4 separate regions of the Homo sapiens genome follow, and all the other regions are linked to region 2. Evidence: promoter capture Hi-C in 16 types of primary human blood cells and fetal thymus (Javierre and others, 2016). All regions are on one chromosome and are shown on one strand. The core of a region is centred on a gene start or on the middle of the fragment in contact, and the rest is flanking DNA. Distances in the headings are between cores, read along the strand shown.

Evidence for each region. The method cuts DNA at HindIII sites, captures the fragments that hold promoters and counts their contacts. A CHiCAGO score of 5 or more calls a contact.
Region 1: a contact is called between a fragment that was not itself captured here and the fragment with the promoter of CAPN11 in region 2, in 2 of 17 cell types (M1 macrophages and total CD8 T cells). The highest score is 5.6, in M1 macrophages.
Region 3: a contact is called between a fragment that was not itself captured here and the fragment with the promoter of CAPN11 in region 2, in 3 of 17 cell types (erythroblasts, M2 macrophages and M0 macrophages). The highest score is 6.7, in erythroblasts.
Region 4: the fragment with the promoter of RSPH9 here is called in contact with the fragment with the promoter of CAPN11 in region 2 in 2 of 17 cell types (M1 macrophages and activated CD4 T cells); the score reaches 7.3 in M1 macrophages.

The regions. Positions count from the first base shown.
Region 1 is chr6:43,609,497-43,612,717 of GRCh38, forward strand. It overlaps POLH (DNA polymerase eta), which reads left to right. Exons shown (of 11, transcript NM_006502.3): 10 at 1,058-1,227. Among named protein-coding and RNA genes, the nearest start is that of GTPBP2, 18 kb to the right of the region's middle. RefSeq lists a silencer at 2,465-2,690. The HindIII fragment of the contact is 4,533 bases long and covers 1-3,221 here.
Region 2 is chr6:44,157,332-44,160,300 of GRCh38, forward strand. It overlaps CAPN11 (calpain 11), which reads left to right and starts at 1,489. Exons shown (of 23, transcript NM_007058.4): 1 at 1,489-1,533. The coding sequence starts at 1,518. LOC107986599 (a long non-coding RNA gene) reads right to left here and starts at 1,272. Exons shown (of 3, transcript XR_002956350.2): 1 at 1,254-1,272. RefSeq lists an enhancer at 2,666-2,835. The HindIII fragment of the contact is 9,288 bases long and covers 1-2,969 here.
Region 3 is chr6:43,591,587-43,594,509 of GRCh38, forward strand. All of the region lies in intron 4 of POLH (DNA polymerase eta), which reads left to right. Among named protein-coding and RNA genes, the nearest start is that of POLH, 17 kb to the left of the region's middle. The HindIII fragment of the contact is 3,573 bases long and covers 1-2,923 here.
Region 4 is chr6:43,643,433-43,646,471 of GRCh38, forward strand. RSPH9 (radial spoke head component 9) reads left to right here and starts at 1,604. Exons shown (of 5, transcript NM_152732.5): 1 at 1,604-1,893. The coding sequence starts at 1,667. RefSeq lists a silencer at 1,023-1,211. The HindIII fragment of the contact is 7,744 bases long and covers 763-3,039 here.

The DNA of each region.
Region 1 (3,221 bases), core at 264-2,763, 550 kb before region 2:
TCACCTTCTTATATTTCTGCCTCTTGACCATTATGTCTCAGTTTGCTGAGATTACAGCATTCAGATGCTTCAGACTTCACTGAAAAGTGAGTCATGATCTTGCTCTCTCAAGGCAGGCTCACTATATGGTATCTTCTCTAGATAAGCTGTAAAAAGGTGTTGGTAGAAACTTCTGGAATTGGTGGCGAATGTTTGTTTACCATAAGAGCCCCAGGGCAGAAAAAAAGATATGACTTGAAGCCTAGTTCCACTTTGCTTTCAGACAATTACTTACCTGAAACCTTCCTTCAGTCACAAAATAGTATCTAGTATTGTAGATATTTGTTATAATTGTCCTGCTTAGACACCATGAAAAACATTTAGGGGAGTCCCATTTTCATTTGTGCTGTCCTGTTCCCATCATCTGTCAAAACATCCTAGGATACTCCGATGTTCCATAATCCAAATTATGTCTTCTTCAGTTACTTTTTACACCCAGAAATAGCATTAACACTTTTTTGTGGAACCATGTAATCAGATTTCTATTCAGAAAATGCATTCTGTTGCATATATATAGATTCTTTTTTTTTTTTTTTTTTTTTTTGAGACAGAGTCTTGCTCTGTCATCCAGGCTGGAGTGCAGTGGCACCATCTTGGCTCACTGCAACCTCTGCCTCCCAGGTTCAAGCAATTCTCCTGTCTCAGCCTCCCGAGTAGCTGGGATTACAGGTGCCTGCCACCACGACTGGCTAGTTTTTTTGTATTTTTCAGTAGAGATGGGATTTCGCCATGTTTGCCAGGCTAGTCTCGAACTCCTGACTTCAGGTGATCCACCTGTCTCAGCCTCCCAAGGTGCTGGGATTACAGGCGTGAGCCACCATGCCTGGCCTCTTTCTCTTTTTTATATTTTATCTTTACTCTTTGCAGAACTCAGTTTACCTTTATTCTTGACTTTTAAACTACTGTTTCCAAACCATTGTCACCCTGGTTCTTTTAATTTCCTCTCCTGCAGTTCAGTACCTAGAATTCAGATGCTCCTCATAACTTTATTTCTGGTCTCCATCCTTTCCACCCACAGAATGACAGGGTAGCCACCCAGCTGGTTGTGAGCATTCGTGTACAAGGAGACAAACGCCTCAGCAGCCTGCGCCGCTGCTGTGCCCTTACCCGCTATGATGCTCACAAGATGAGCCATGATGCATTTACTGTCATCAAGAACTGTAATACTTCTGGAATCCAGACAGAATGGTGAGTTCTTTTCTAGCTCATCTTCTCAGAATAGATGATGATTCTTAGCTCTGTCTTAGCTCTACAAGACATAATTTTTATCATAAAGTTCCTCATTGTGTCTAATCACTCAAATTTTCACATGAGCTGAATTTCAGAAGATGAAATATGCTTTTATGTACAGATTAGTCCTTCAATGAGGTAAAGGGTAAATGTCATTTTAAAGTTATTATTAAAGTATCGGCCGGGCGCAGTGGCTCACGCCTGTAATCCCAGCACTTTGGGAGGCCAAGGTGGGTGAATCACCTGAGGTCTGTCTCAGTTCTACAAGTAGTAGGAATCTCTGTCTTAGCTCTACAAGTAGTAGGAATCTGAGCTCTTCCATCTGGGATAGACTCTGACTCAGACTACCAGTACCTGTTACTCTGGGAGAAAATACAGTACCAACCTCAGAAACAAGACAGCTCAGCACAGATCCTTTGCCGACAGCTGATACATTCCAGTTCCCAGGAGGTTAGACCCTTACTCTGTATTGGCTTGGTCAGGGAAATGACCAGTTGCACTTGGAGAACAGAGCTCAAATTTCAAGGATACATTTGGGAACTTCAAACTACTTGATTGTTCTATCTTAAAAGCATATTTCTTGATTATAAAGGTGACCTGTGTTCACTGATATTCTCTATCTGACATCCCAACTCAGTTACAAGCTCCACTGGTATTATACCAAATGTCATATTCATTAGTAAACTTCACTTCTGTTGGTCATGAAATATAAGCCTCTTTTTGGAGCATCTTCATTTTCTGTCCAGATATTAATGATTTTCAGGATTGGAATCCTTTAATTGCATATTTAATAAAGCCCTTACTTTTTTTAAAGTATTCCAAATTCACAATAGAAATATAATTATGAGAGAGAGGTAAGTCAGTTGCTCACTTACAGATGTATATTGAATATTATACAAAATAAAATCAAAGTTTAGTTAATCGCTTATTACTTATCTAAATATATTGGCAGTATAATTATGTGTACAGACCTATAATATGGTGGAGTCTCCTAGTCTTTGTTCATAGGGCCGGGCGCGGTGGCTCACGGCTGTAATCCCAGCACTTTCGGAGGCCGAGGCAGGCAGATCACCTGAGGTCAGGAGTTCAAGAGCACCCCAGCCAACATGGTGAAACCCTGTCTCTACTAAAAATACAAAAATTAGCCAGGCATGGTGGTGGATGCCTATAATCCCAGCTACTTGGGAGGCTGAGGCAGGAGAATTGCTTGAACCTGGGAGGTGGAGGTTGCGGTGAGCCGAGATTGCGCCATTGCACTCCAGCCTGGGCAACAAGAGCGAAATTCCGTCTCCAACAACAACAACAACAAATAAATAAATAAATAAATAAAGTCTTTGTTCTGAGAATAATTTACTTAATACTTCCTGATATATTTATTTTCAAATATTGAAGTTTTACAAAACCAAATAACAACCGTGGTACTAATGTACACATGAAACCTTATTTGAAAAGTTATAAATTGACAAACTATAACAAATACTACTCACCAACGGTGTGAAACTCCGTGATGCACAGGGAAGCATCAAAATTATCTGATTATAAGACTGTCCCAAAGCATGAAACCTGAGGATATTGGGATACTTTTTTTTTTTTTTTTTGAGACGGAATCTCGCTCTTGTTGTCTAGGCTGGAGTGCAGTGACGCAATCTCGGCTCACTGCAACCTCTGCCTCCCGGGTTCAAGCGATTCTCCTGCCTCAGCCTCCTGAGTAGCTGGGATTACAGGTGCCCGCCACCACGCCCGGCTAAATTTTGTACTTTTAGTAGAGACAGGGTTTCTCCATGTTGGCCAGGCTGGTCTCAAATTCCTGACCTCAGGTGTTTCACCCACCTCGGCCTCCCAAAGTGCTGGGATTACAGGCGTGAGCCACTGCACCCGGCCAATAGTGTAATAATAACTTTAAAATGACATTTACCCTTTACCTCATTGAAGGACTAATCTGTACATAAAAG
Region 2 (2,969 bases), core at 239-2,738:
TCCCCAAAGACCACTTCCTCCTTTCACAGCTGGGGGCAGCAGAAGATACGGATAAGAGCTAAAGTTATGGCCGGGCACGGTGGCTTATGCCTATAATCCTAGCGCTTTGGGAGGCCGAAGCGAGTGATCACCTGAGGTCAGGAGTTCGAGACCAGCCTGCCCAACATGGCGAAACCCCGTCTCTACTAAAAATACAAAAATTAGCTGGGCATGGTGGTGGGCACCTGTAATCCCAGCTACTTGAGAGGCTGAGGCAGGAGAATCGCTTGAACCCGGGGGGCAGAGGTTGCAGTGAGCTGAGATTGCACCACTTCACTCCAGCCTGGGCAAAAGAGCGAGACTCCATCTCAAAAAAAAAAAAAAAAAAAAAAATCTGAAGTTATTAGTTTAAATCCTGGCTCGACCGCTTAACAGCTGTGTGACCCTGGGCAAGTTGCATCATACCTCTAGACCTCACTTTCCTCATCTATAAAATGGGAATAGCAATGTCATGGCCTCTGGCTGTTTTAAGGATTAAATAAGTAGGAAGTTCTTAGCCCAGTGTTTGGCACATAATAACAAACCATAATTAATATTCTCGTAGATGAGGAGATTGAGTCCCAGAAAGGAGAAAGGGGGAGGGCTCGCCCAAGGTCAGCTCCTGTTTCAGAGCTTGGAACAAGGTTCTCTGATCCCATTGGGTGCTCTCACACCTGTTCTGTGCCTGATTAGCACCAGGCAGGGCTGAGGGGCACTGGGATGACCTTGACAGTCCCTGTCCTCAGCCATCATACACTCCAGAGAAGACTGCACTCTGGAGCAGAGTTCTTAGCTCAAAGCATTCCCACTTTCCAGTGCAGAGGCAGGACATGTGGTCAGACCAGTGGCCTAACCTTGCCAGACTGGGGCTAGGCAAGGAGAGTGTTGCAGGTGGAATCGTGTCCCCCAAAAAGGCATGTTGAAGTCCTGGCCCCCAGTACTTCAGAATGTGACCTCATTTGGAAACAGGGTGGTTGCAGATGTAATTCGTTCAATTAAGATGAGGTCATACTGAAATGCATGGGACCCTAGCCCCATATGACTGGTGTCCTTATAAGAAGAAGAGACACAGAGGAGGGTGCCATGTGAAGACAGCAACACAGGAAAAATGCCATGTCAGTGAGAAAGGGGCTTTTGGGAATGAGAAGGCTTTCTGGATGTAAAGGTCAGGTTGGTGTGTCAGGGACAACCCCTTCCTGGAAACCTTGGGCTGAAAAAAAGGGACTGGGACCTACCCTGATGGGATGACCGTGATACAGTGAGGACAGCCAGGCTGGTGGAGGCTGTGCAAGGCAGGGGTGCTGGGTCATCTGTCCCTAAAGCGGGTAGCCCTCAGCTGGGTAAGGGGCTGGGTTACTGAGAAGGAGAAAAGGGAAGGCAGCTGTTAAACCGGCTGCTGACCTAGGAATCCCACTGCAATGAGAGAGTTCTGGGGGGAGGGTCTCTTCTCCCCCTCCCACCAGAACCTTCAACTGTCAAGCACCGAGCTAGCCACCAGCATGCTGTACTCCCCAGGTAGGCACTCATGGGGCCTTGCCCCACTCCTGTACCTCCTGCAGGCTAGAGCCTCCCCCCAGGGGAGGAGCTGTGTCCCGCATCAGACTGGGTGCCCCTTGAGGGTACAGAGAGTGACTCTTCCATCAGACTGGATGCCCCTTGAGGGTACAGAGAGTGACTCTTCCATCAGACTGGATGCTCCCTAAGGACAGGACCTGGGCCTCGTTCTCAGACTGTTTGGGGAAGGATAGGCCACTGGTGGTCAGACTGGGTGGTAGGCCGGGCAGGAACTCTTTCTCCTCTCCACTGACAGTTGGAGTTGGGGAGAGGAGAGGGGCCGGCCATCCCACTGTCATGGCTGCTGGGGAAAAGGGTTTGTGTGAAAAAGCCCACGTAGAGAAGAAAACTTTAGGGAACAGAGAGAACCTCTCCTAAGCCTAGAAAAGCAGGTCCCTCAGCCCAGGAAGATGAGATCCTCAGGGTGGCAGGGGCAGGACTACCTGAGGCAAGCCTGGGACCAGACTCCAGGAGATGGGGGAGAGTGGGCTGGGGGGAAGGGGAGGGCTGGGCAGAACTGAGTTGTTCCTGTGGGGCTAGGGTGCACAGAGGGCAGCCAGCCTTGGCCAGCAGAAGGTCAGCCCTGTACCTCACCCTCAGCCTGGGGCACCGTGAGACCATGGGCCCCTAGACCCAGCCTCCCAGCTTCTCAGGCCCTCCCTGTTTACCTGACCCTAGGAAGTTTAGGCCTAGCTGGTGACCCCAAACCCAGTCCTTGTTCTTCAGAAGTGCCCTGAGCCCAGGAGTTCAAGACCAGCCTGGTCAGCATAGCAAGACCTCATCTCAAAATATAATTTATTTATTTATTATTATTACTTATTAGTATTTATTTTTTTTTAAAGTTCCCTGACACAACATCTTAGTTTTTTCCCAGTGCCGGAAATCAAACTGTCCTTAAATCTATAGTCCCCTAATAACAATGTATTGCATTTAGAAAATCACTGAGAGAGGCCAGGCACAGTGGTTCACGCCTGTAATCCTAGCACTCTGGGAGGCCAAGGCAGGTGGATCATCTGAGGTCAGGAGTTCGAGACCAGCCTGGCCAACATAGTGAAACCGTGTCTCTACTAAAATACAAAAATTAGCCATGCGTGGTGGCGGGCGCCTGTAATCCCAGCTACTCGGGAGGCTGAGGCAGGAGAATCTCTTGAACCCAGCAAGTGGAGGTTGCAGTGAGCCGAGATCGTGCCACCGCACCCCAAGCCTGGGCGACACAGCGAGACTCCATCTCAAAAAAAAAAGAAAATCACTGACAGTAGATTTTAAGTGTTCTCACCACAAACAAATAACAAGTATGTGCAGTAATGCAGATATTAATTAGCTCAACTGAGCCATTCCACAGTGAATACATATTTCAAAACACCATGTCGTATACAACAGATATATACTTTTTTTGT
Region 3 (2,923 bases), core at 148-2,647, 570 kb before region 2:
GGGATTACAGGCATGAGCCACCGCACCCAGCCTGATTTTTTTTTTTTTTTTAAATATTTGGAATTGGTTTTATAATGCCTTGAATTTGTGGCTCTTTAAAGTTTATTTGAGAATTACATACTCTTAAAAATTTGTTGAAAGCTATAGACCCTTGCTGGCCTCCGAAAAATTTGTATCTATACATAAGACAATTTTGCATGCAGTTTTCAGGAGATTCACAAACCCTCTGAAATCCACATACCTCAGAATTAGAACTAGTCTTACACATTATATTGGTTTTTGCTGCAGAGCATTGTTGAAGCATTCTATTATCTCTGGCTGAAGATGGTATATACCTTCCTTGGTAGTTGAATGTTAACTCAGATGGACGTGTTCCTCTTTCTTCTACACTTACTTTTCTTACCTATGTACATTTTTTTATTAAAAATGCCCATGTTTATAGAGAGGTCTATTTCTGTATGTCTTGTGTCTGTTGCATTAGTGTGTCCAACTTAAATATTAAGCTCCCAGATGCAGTGCCAGCATCTTATTATATGTAATGTTCAGAACAGTGCAATGTCTAGGAAATATTTCATATCATATTCCTGAATCTTTGATGTGTGCAACCACAAAAACCTGATAACAGAAATTAGCTGATCTAAGTGGATATAACCTTCCAGAAATCATTTTTCATGGATACAATATATTTCAAATCTAAGAAAAGAGGCGAGGTATTTGTAATACCTTGATACTGAGCTTTCCATCAACTTTTCCATCTTGCCTCCTATAAGAGCTAGCAATCATGCTCAGCCCTCCTGCATTTGCAGCTTTGTATCTTCTTTTTTTTTTTTTTTTTTGGAGAGGGAGTCTCTTTCTCGCTCTGTCGCCCAGGCTGGAGTGCAGTGGTGCAATCTCGGCTCACTGCAATCTCCACCTCCCGGGTTCACGCCATTCTCCTGCCTCAGCCTCCCGAGTAGCTGGGACTACTGTTGGCCGCCACCACGCCCGGCTAATTTTTTTGTATTTTTTTTAGTAGAGACGGGGTTTCACCGTGTTAGCCAGCATGGTCTCGATCTCCTGACCTCGTGATCTGCCCGCCTTGGTCTCCCAAAGTGCTGGGATTACAGGCGTCAGCCACTACGCCTGGCCTTGTATTTTCTAAAATAGTTATTTGTGTGTAAAGTTTAAGTAGTAAGATTTACTTAAAGTACTTCTCAGAAATTGTCAAGGTGAAACTTTCCCATCATTGCCATTTTGTAACTGGTTTGTTAGCTAAGGGCCTTTTCTTTTCCCTTTGTTTTTTCTTAATTCATTTCTTTATTATTTTAAAACACAGAGACATGGTCTCACTATGTTGCCCGGGCTGGTCTTGATGAGTTCCTGGCCTCAAGCAATTTTCCCACTTCAGCGTCCCAAAGTGCCAGGATTATAGGCGTGAGCCACTGCACCTGGCCTTACAAAACAGTTTTATAATGATTATTTTTGAGATGGGGTCTCACTGTGTTGCCCATGTTACCTGTGAACTCATGCTCAAGTGATCCTCCCACTTGAGGCTTCCAAGTAGCTGGAACTATCGGCATGTGCCACTGTGTCTGGCTTTATCTTATAATGATCATATAATTATTATTAAAGATTATAAAATTCAATGGAAAGATTATACTATCCTCATGTATCAAAAGACTAAATCTTACTAGTGCTCAATTCTCCCCAAATTGACGTATAGATTCATTGCAGTCCCTTCCAAAATCCCACAGAAATTGACAAACTGATTCTAAAATTTGTATGGAAATGCAAAGAATGTGGAGTAGCCAAACAACTTTGAAAAAGAACTAAGTTGGAAGACATACTACCTGATTTCAAGATTTAACTATAAATTTGTAACTAGGGAAGTTTGGTATTGGTGTGAGAAAATACGTAGATTAATGGTATAGAATAGAAAGTATACAAGTAGATCCCCACTTTTCAGGCTGGGGTGTGTGTGGTGGCAATTCATTTCCACAAAGGTGCCAAGATAATTCAACAAGAAAAACTCTTGGCTGGGCACAGTGGCTCACGCCTGTAATCCCAGCACTTTGAGAGGCCAGGGTGAGCGAATCATGACGTCATGAGATTGAGACCATCCTGGCCAACATGGTGAGACCCTGTCTCTACTAAAAATACAAAAATTAGCTGGGTGTGGTGGCGCATGCCTATAATCCTAGCTTTTCGGGAGGGTAAGGCAGGAGAATTACTTGAACCCAGGAGGCAGAGGTTGCAGTGAGCTGAGATTGCGCCACTGTACTCCAGCCTAGCAACAGAGTGAGACTCCGTCTCAAAAAAAAAAAAAAAAAAAAAGAAAGAAAGAAAAGTTTTTTCTCAGCTTTCATGGGCATTTAACACCAGAACTACCTGAAGTATTTCCTGTAGTCCATTTCATGGTATTGAAGAAAAACCAAAATTTTATAGATTTTTCTTATCAACTAGAGAAAAGGTAAAAAGCATTGTAGGGAAATAAGGGAATTCTGCTTATCTTCTGTGGTCCCGTTCAGTTAATACAGATAAAGGATTAAATTTAAAAATCTACATTGCCACAGGATTGCAACATTACCCAATCTGGGAAAGCAATGATGAAAAAAATCTAAAGCAGAGAAAATTTAGCTCTAACTGTTTAAAAAGGTCCAGAAAGTCATACAATTACAGTAAATTATTCATATTTTTGTTTCCCAAAGCTAATATATACTAGTATAAATTGTTTTAAATGATGGATGTTTTAATAGTATTTATTGTTCTTAATATGTGCAAGCCTTGGTATTTCAGGAAAACAGATAATTAAAAAAAAAGCAAAAAATGCGCAAGCCACTGTGCTGAGGAACTTTATTTTTAAAAACTACCTTTTGGCCGGGCACAGTGGCTCACGCCTGTAATCCCAGCACTTTGGGAGCCCTTGAGGTCAGGAGTTCAAGAC
Region 4 (3,039 bases), core at 354-2,853, 510 kb before region 2:
TAACACATTAAGCCAAATCAACTCCCTCAAATACTAATTTTATTTATTTATTTAGTTAGTTAGTTGTATTTTTTGAGACAGGCTCGCTCTGTTGCCCAGGCTGCAGTGCGGTAGCATGATCTTGGCTCACTGCAATCTCTGCCTCCCAGGTTCAAGCCATTCTCCTGCCCCAGCCTCCCGAGTAGCTGGGATTACAGCTGTGGGCCACCAAGCCCGGCTGTTTTGTATTTTTAGTAGAGACAGGGTTTCACCATGTTGGTCAGGCTGATCTCATAACAATGCCTTCCTAAACAATGCCTAAGCCTGGGCGTGGTGGTTCACACCTGTAATCCCAGCACTTTGGGAGGCTCAGGTGAGTGGATCACTTGAGCTCGGAGTTCAACACCAGCCTGGCCAACATGGCAAAACCCCGTCTCTACTAAAAATACAAAAAATATTGGGTGTGGTGGCACACACCTGTAGTCCCAGCTACCTGGGGGGCTGAGGTGGGAAGATCACTTGAGCCCAGGAGGTTGAGGCTGCAGTGAGCTGAGATCACACACCACTACACTCCAGCCTGGGTGACAAAGTGAGACCCTGTCTCAACCCCCGAAAACCAACAATGCCCAGACAATCAAAAAAGTAATTATCTGGGTTATTTACACACTTATTTATCAGCTGGGGCCCAGGTCATTCTGATTTCCTGAGTGCTCTTCAAAGGAATCCAGAAATGAAAATATCAACTAGCAACATTAACGATAAAGCCCATCTCCTGTGGCAACAAGCTTGCTGAGGAACCTGTTTGTTTGTCCTTGGCTGGGGACTCAAGAAGTGAATGTGGAGAAGTGATCTAGCCCAGGGAGTGAAGCTCCAGTTGCAGTGAGGTTCTGGCCTTTCATCTCTTGCTACCATTTGGATCTAAAAACAACAGTTGGTGGTAGTTGGTAGTTGATGAGAAAGGTGGTAGTTGATGAGAAAGTGTAGTCTATAAAAGTCCCCCTTTTTGTATCTCTCTCCTCACCCTCCTTTCCCAAGGTGTTACCCTATACCTTGCCCCCATTGCCTAGATTTTCATTTGTCACTTAGAATATTTCTATGGAAAGGGTAGATAAAGAAGACAGCTGGTGAAGATGGAAGAGAATGGATGGACCTCATTCTGTAAGACCTGGCTTGGGGTGGGGTGCGGGTGGAGGTAGTCGGGTTGACAGAATCTTAATTAGAGCCAGGAGGAATCTCAAATTCTTCACAGATCATTCTGAGGTCAAGAAGTGACATGACTGGGGTGAAATAGTACAGTTAGTGTCAGTGTTGGGGTTTTGTATTGTTTTCTTTCCAGACCCCAGGTCCATATACAGTAAAGACTCTAAATGTCGACTATGTGAAAGGGCTCAGGGAAGGCCAAATATCTATGGAAAAAGGCTGGGTTTGGACTTACAACCCCAACTGTAGCCTAACTGTAGGGGAAGCCATACTGTGGCCGTGGCAACTGAAGACATCCCGTCCCAAACTCTGGAAAGGATGAGGGAGGGGGCTGATGCCTAGGCCTCCGTGGGGAGGAGGTCTGGGCGGTAGGCGGTGGGGTGGGTGGAACCTAGCGTCCAGCTAGGCGGAAGGGCGGAGCTTCAGGTCTCCATGGAGGCGGCTTCTCCTAGCAACTCGACGGGCGTTGAGCGGAGCCGCTGACCTGATGGACGCCGACAGCCTCCTGCTGTCTCTGGAGCTGGCGTCCGGCAGTGGGCAGGGCCTCAGCCCGGACCGTCGGGCCTCGCTGCTCACGTCTCTTATGCTGGTTAAGCGCGACTACCGCTATGATCGGGTTCTCTTCTGGGGCCGCATCCTTGGCCTCGTCGCCGATTACTACATCGCGCAGGGCCTGAGTGAGGACCAGCTCGCACCGCGCAAGACGCTCTATAGGTGAGGAGGCCCCCGGGACGGGCTCCCCAGAGGGTGGCTACCTGGAGGCAGGGCGGGGTGGGCGGGTCGCAGCAATTGAAAGGGGCGGGGCCCATGGGGCCAAGGGAGGTGTGGGCGGGATCTGAGATGAGTGGAATGGGGGAGACCCTGGGGGGCGGGCCTGGGGACGGTCAAGAGGTGGTTGAGGGAAAGGGCGGGGATGGGGATGTCTCGGAATCTGAGGCTAGGGCGGAGCCTGAGAGGGCGGGGCAATGGACGGGCGATGTCCCCCGGAGGGCGGGGCCTTGCGAGAGCTTGTTCTCCGCCTGAGGAGGCCAAGAGAAACTTACATGCGGATGGGTTTATAAGAGAGACAGGGCCAAGAACGCAGGTGAAGCAGTGGGAAGGTTTCTGGAAAATGCGGACCTGGAGAAGAAGCCAGGTTCCAGCCAAGTGCTGGGCCTGGCTCAGTTTGGAGAAGGCTCAGTTTGGAGAAGAGTCAGACGCCAGAGGGAGAGGGTGGTGCTCTTTGATAGAGGTATCTGCTCTGGAGCTGGAGGCGCTTTTGGAAATAGAGAACGAATGCGGAATGGGGAGAGAGCTGGGGAAAATTCCCTGGTCACTACCATACAGGACCATCCAGCTATTTATTTATTTATTTTTGTTTTGAGGCAGAGTCTTGCTCTGTCACCCAGGCTGGAGTGCAGTGTCGCTATCTTGGTTCACTGCAACCTCCGCCTCCCGGATTCAAGCGATTTTCCTGCCTCAGCCTCCCAAATAGCTGGGATTACAGGCACGTGCCACCACACCTGGCTATTTATTTATTATTATTATTATTATTATTTTAGACGGAGTCTCGCTCTGTCGCCCAGGCTGGAGTGCAGTGGCTCGATCTCGGCTCACTGCAAGCTCCGCCTCCTGGGTTCACGCCATTCTCCTCCCTCAGCCTCCCGAGTGGCTGGGACTACAGGCGCCCGCCACCATGCCCGGTTAATTTTTTTTTGTATTTTTAGTAGAGACGGGGTTTCACCGTGTTAGCTAGGATGGTCTCGATCTCCTGACCTCGTGATCCGTCCGCCTCAGCCTCCCAAAGTGCTGGGATCACCCACCGCGCTTGGCAATTATTTATTTATTTATTATTTTTGTAATTTTAATAGAGACAGGGTT